2 separate regions of the Homo sapiens genome follow, and region 1 is linked to region 2. The links are contacts of gene promoters, found by promoter capture Hi-C in blood cells and fetal thymus (Javierre and others, 2016). All regions are on one chromosome and are shown on one strand. Each heading gives the region's core, a stretch centred on a gene start or on the middle of the fragment in contact. The rest is flanking DNA. Distances are from core to core; before and after follow the strand shown.

Evidence for each region. The method cuts DNA at HindIII sites, captures the fragments that hold promoters and counts their contacts. A CHiCAGO score of 5 or more calls a contact.
Region 1: a fragment that was not itself captured here is called in contact with the fragment with the promoter of MTUS2-AS1 in region 2 in 2 of 17 cell types (endothelial precursors and megakaryocytes); the score reaches 5.5 in endothelial precursors.

Annotation. Positions count from the first base shown.
Region 1 is chr13:29,751,025-29,753,866 of GRCh38, forward strand. No RefSeq gene overlaps it. Among named protein-coding and RNA genes, the nearest start is that of UBL3, 98 kb to the right of the region's middle. The HindIII fragment of the contact is 1,422 bases long and covers 671-2,092 here.
Region 2 is chr13:29,486,126-29,489,012 of GRCh38, forward strand. MTUS2-AS1 (MTUS2 antisense RNA 1) reads right to left here and starts at 1,625. Exons shown (of 3, transcript NR_046378.1): 1 at 1,375-1,625. It overlaps MTUS2 (microtubule associated scaffold protein 2), which reads left to right. Exons shown (of 16, transcript NM_001033602.4): 11 at 1,775-1,880. The HindIII fragment of the contact is 24,751 bases long and covers 1-2,887 here.

The DNA of each region.
Region 1 (2,842 bases), core at 132-2,631, 260 kb after region 2:
TTTTCCTTTCACAAGGGAAACCACCCCCAAGAGGTGGAGGGAGCTGCCTTTGAAAGCATGGGTCCAGTGAGTCTACACTCATTGCTGTGGGCACAGGCCACCATCAGACTTAGGGACTGAGGATGAGTGAGCACAGCTGACTAGGAAAACACGTCTAAAAGTAGGAAACTGGCCAGGCGTGGTGGCTCACGCCTGTAATCCCAACACTTTGGGAGGATGAGGTGGGCAAATCACCTGAGGTCAGGAGTTTGAGACCAGCCTGACCAACATGGTGAAACCCTGTCTCTACTAAAAATACAAAAATTAGCCAGTCGTGATGGTGGGCGCCTGTAATCCCAGCTACTCGGAAGGCTGAGGCAGGAGAATTGCTTGAGCCCGGGAAGCGGAGGTTGCAATGAGCCAAGATTGCACCACTGCACTCCTGCCTGAGTGACAGAGCAAGACTTCATCTAAAAAAAAAATTAAAAAAAATAGGAAACAAAGTGCCCCAAGCCATGATCACTGCCTTGAAATCTTATTTTGAGAAAACTATATTCTAAAGTTGAGTAAGCAAAACTGGAGAAAAATGAGAATAAAGTAAGGCCATGGAATACAAGGAGCCCAGCCTTCTGTATGGAGCCTGGTTTATATACACCTTCTTTCCACAATATTTCCCTAGTCTTGGCATGTAAGCTTTGTCCAAGCCTCTACTCTGTAGGGAATCTTGGCTTAGACAATATACTAAGGGATGGTCACACTTTAGTTACAACAGGAAAGTGGTTCTTTGGAGAAACTGATGATGTAAGGAGTCTTTGTAATTAAGTACAAGTCCCAAGATCATCCTGACTTGTCAAGGAAAAACATACTAGAAAGGACATGGCAGGGAAGGGATGGGCTGCCTAAAGATGAAAATAGGAATGTGTATAGGCAGGAAAATAACACTGACAAAAGGAAGAAAGGCAGGAACTAACAGAGAAATTAAGGAGGGATGGAATCAGATTTGGAAAAGGTGCTTGGATGTAAACTAATTCATCCTTATGTCCAATACATGACTCTTCTCTCTCCTCCCTACTAGGCAGGGCATTTTTGCTTCCTGACAGCTTCTGCTTGAACACCTCCTGCGATGGAAACTCACTATCAAAAATAGCTCCTTTCCTTTTTGCACAGTGCTGAGCCAAACTGAATCAAATTTTGTCTACTTGCAAATTCTGCCCATTAGCTCTGTTCTGACCACTGCAGCGACTCTCAATAGGTATGATGCCTTTTGACCTAGCGGCCCTTCAAATATTTGAAATCCACTTCCTCTGACAGCCCCACCCTGACACCATTTCTAGATCCTACATGATCCTGCTCGGTCATCTGTGAACATACTTCAGATGTGTCAATCACCTTGAAATGTGGAACCTAGAACTGAACACAACGTTCCATGTCATCAGTGAAATTGGAGCACAACATTATTGTTTATATCCTGAGACTTATTGTCCTGTTAATAAAGTCTGAGATAGAACTTGCTTTTTGGCAGCCCTTCAACAATGTTGGGTCACACAGAGCCTAAAATCAGTTTTAAATTACTGCTCCATCTTCTGATCACATCATATATTCCAGGAGCTCTCTGATTATTTGGATTTTATTTCAACACTAAAAAATGTTGAGAACAACATAGCCTTATGTAAAAAAAAAAAAAAAAAGGTTCCAAGGAAGGATATTTTTAAAAGGCAAAAGATTGAAAGAAAATGACATCCAATGGATAGTCATATCTAATGTAGAGTTTAAGAACTGGTAAATATGTGGGCAAATATAAAAGCATTTTCAAAAGTCATCTTTTTATTTCTTTAAAAGATAACTGGCTGTTTAAAACAATGATTATACGTTCTGAGATTTATAACATACAAAGGCAAAATGTATGGCATGAGAGCACAAAAGACAGATATGGAGAAGTGGAAGTAATCTGCTTTCAGGTCTTGAATTACACGTGAAATAGTGTGATGTTATTGAAGGTAGACTGTGAAAACTTCAAATGTATATTGTAAGCCCTAGAACAGCCACTAAAAGAAAGGAAATGGTATAGCTATTAAGTCAATCGTAGAGTTAGAATTAAAAATACTTTGATATAAGCTTTCCATTTATAAATTAAAAAAAGAAAAATACTTGATCTAGAAAAGGAACAGATGAGACAATCTTTAGTTTGTCACAACTGGTTTTCACAATGTCAAGACATTAAACTGATATGTCCATAATTACATTAAATGTAAATAGTAAAAAGGCTAGGCGTGGTGGCTCACACCTGTAAACCCAGCACTTTGGGAGGCTGAGGCAGGTGGATTGCTTGAGGCCAGGAATTCGAGACCAGCCTGGACAACCTGGCGAAACCCCATCTCTACTAAAAATATGAAAATTAGCTGGTGTGGTGGTGCATGTCTGTAATCTCAGCTACTCGGGAGGCTGAGGCAGGAGAATTGCTTGAACCTGGGAGGCAGAGGTTGCAGTGAGTCAAGATCACACCACTGTGCTCCAGCCTGACAGAGCAAGACTGTCTCAAAAAAAAAAAAAAAAAAGTAAATAGTAAAAGCACTCCAATTAAAAGGTAGAGATTGAATAGTTCTTGTAAAAATAGTAACCTTCTATACACAGTATATAAGAAACATACTTTAAACACACAAATAGGTTAAAAATAAAGAACGAAAAAAGATACACTATGTAAGCTCAATAGTCATGAGAAAACTGAAGGGGTGATGTTGTGACCGCCCAATGGGCTCACCTTGCCCGCTGTCTAGACAGAGCCGATTTATCAAGACAAGGACTTGTGGTGAAGAAAGCGTAATTTATGCGGAGCCGGCTGTGTGGGAGACTGGAGTTTTATTAT
Region 2 (2,887 bases), core at 375-2,874:
GCCTTTCTCCTGGTGGGTTCATAGCTCTGAGCTTCAAGTAAATACGGTTTGATCAAGAATGGCCTTTAAATGGGAGTGAGCCATTGTGCACCACGTCCGTTCTCACACTGCGATGCAGCTTTCCTAATGCCATGGGTCTGCTGTAGGTTTTGCTCAGTGATATTTGTTTTAGTGGATGAAGTTCTCATTTACCATAAGAGAGAGAAGTCAGGATAATTGTTTGATGAAATTATAGTATGCAGAATGGGAAACCACCCTTTTTTAAAACAAATATATCCTCACGTGTCAACTTCACAGTCAGGCTTCCTTTCTTGGGGAGAGCCCTTTCTCCATTCAGATCAAAGGTTAGCCTGTGAATTCTCCCCCAGAGAAATGTGGGAGCCCAGAGGTGGCTGAATATGACCAGCTAGAAGCAATGTCTTCTTAACTGGGCCACCAAGGAGCTTCAAGACCAGTGCACATTTTCTAGTTCAGTGGTTTTCAAATGCCAAGTTTTGATGCATTATTAGCTTGTGAAATAAATGTAGTGGCCTCTAACTAGCGTTTTGTAAAACAAAGTAAAATAGAGGAAACATTTTTAAACCAGATTTTTCCAAATGGAAGGGGAAGTTTTGTTTTTGTGAAACTTTGGTTTTGGGTATGGTTGTGTGTGGGTGTGTGCACTGTGATATTGTGTACAATGGTGATTTTTACAGTGGATCACTGACAGAGAATTTGGATAAACACCGTTGTAGTGCATCCAGGAGAGATTTGCAATCATAGGGAGAGGTCGTTTTAGACAATTACTCCTGCAAGTCATACATTTGAAGTTAAAACAACAGCCACAATGACAATAACAAAAACAGTAAACCTGGTAGGCAGGCAGGTGAGGGGTAGGGGAGGGGGTCAGGAAACATGAAAATGAAGAATCCTGGACTGGACTGGCTGCACTACTTGCGATTAAACTGCTAGACGTGTTCCTGCAGCTGGGAGGCAGCAGCCCTTCCCAGGAGCACCACATTGCCTGAGCAGAAGGTCCAAGTTATAATCTGGTGGGCAACCTTATGTTTAAAAACAGACACACAGACCTGCCAGCCTCACCTGGTATTGGCGAGAGAATCCTAAGGTGTTCGTTGCTAGTCTTGCTTGGGGGAGGTGAACACAAAACAACAGTGCATTAGAAAGAGCCTCGCCTTTGGAGTCAGACAGACCTGGGTCTCACTGTTAGCTCTGCCATTTATTAGCCCTTGGGCAAAACGTTTCATATTTCTCTTAGCCTCAGTTTCCACATCTGTCAATTGGGCATAAAAAGATATACTTCATAAGGTGGCTCTGAGGGTTAAGTAGAGTAGCCTATCTCGGACAGCCTAATAAGTATTCGTTCCCTCCACTTACCTTGTGTACCGTAGCTCCCCCTGCCACTGGGAAACAGACCACCTCGTAGGGAGGACGCTTTTCTTTTCCTTTGCCGTCATCGCTCATAGCGGTGCAAGCGCGTGGACAAGCAGTGGGAAGGGGATGGTCCAGGAGCCACACTCAGGACTCTAAAGAGGTACCTCAGGCAGTGATCCCCTGCCTGGAGTTGGACCCCCCTACAAAGAGCCAGGTTGTGGCAGTGACCTCCCCGTGATTCCGAGGGCTGCCACATCACCACCAAAGTCCAGCTCTCCTGCTTCGGCACAAGGCTGTGACTTGTCATTGATGTTTTGGGTCACGGACCTTTTCCACTCACGGAATTCCACTTCTGTTCTCCAAGCAGCTCTCTGTCTAACCAGTAACTGCGACTCTCCTCCAGGTGGAAGATCTCACCGCCAGCCATGATGCTGCTCTCCTAGAGATGGAAAATAACCACACAGTTGCCATCACAATCCTGCAGGATGACCACGACCACAAAGTCCAAGGTAGCTCCCAGCCTCGTGTGCAGCAGGCAGGGGTGGGTGGTGCAATCCGAGCCTTTCCTGCTGCAGATGTGTGGAGCCCCCCTTCCTCTCTTGTCCCTCCTTTCCTGTCTTTCCCTCCTGGTGCATTTTTTCCTGTTGGCTCCTGGGAAAAGAAGAGATAGGAATTAAGGATCCAGGTAGTTAGCTGCTTCTTTCCTCCAATGCAGTTATCCTCAACCTTGATGAATACTGGAATTCCCCGTCCCCTGGGGAGCGGTAACAAAAGACCAATGCCAGCCTCAGTCCCACCCCAGGGATTCTGATGTCCTTGGTCCATAGTGCAGTGTAAACATCAAGATTTCTTAAGACTCCTTAGGGGATTCTAATGTGTAGCCACACTTGAGGGCCACTGTCTAAAGCAGGCATGGAAATCGTGCACTTTTTTTTTTCCTCTTTTTTTTTTTTTTTTTTTTTGAGACAGAGTCTCACTTTGTTGCCCAGGCTGGAGTGCAGTGGTGCGATCTCAGCTCACTGAAACTTCTGCCTCCTGGGTTCAAGCGATTCTCCAGCCCCAGCTGGAGCCTCCAGCCCGAGTAGCTGGGATTACAGGTGCCCACTACCACACCCGGCTAGGCTTTATGATGTTTATTGCCTTATAAAAACAAATGGAAGCCCCGGCATGGATACACTTTCTTCATATTTATGATGTTCTCCGGGCCACTGCAGCATCTGGTTGGATCGGGGTATCCAGAGCTTACACTCATAGACCACATTCACCGTGGGTGTGCGTTAAGTCTCCAGATCTTTCTTTCTACATTTTTGTAACTTTGAATTATCTTTGGGTTTTACGTGGGTCATAACAGCATCATTACTAAGTTCCAGTGAGATTTTCCTTTGTGAAAGAGGCAGCATTTTACACTTTCACATGCATTTACATTAATATGTACAGTTTATTTTTCAACTTTCTCTCGCTTTACTTTTCCCTCCCAGTCAGCTGGTTGTTAAAGTGTGTATTAAAGGCCGGGAGC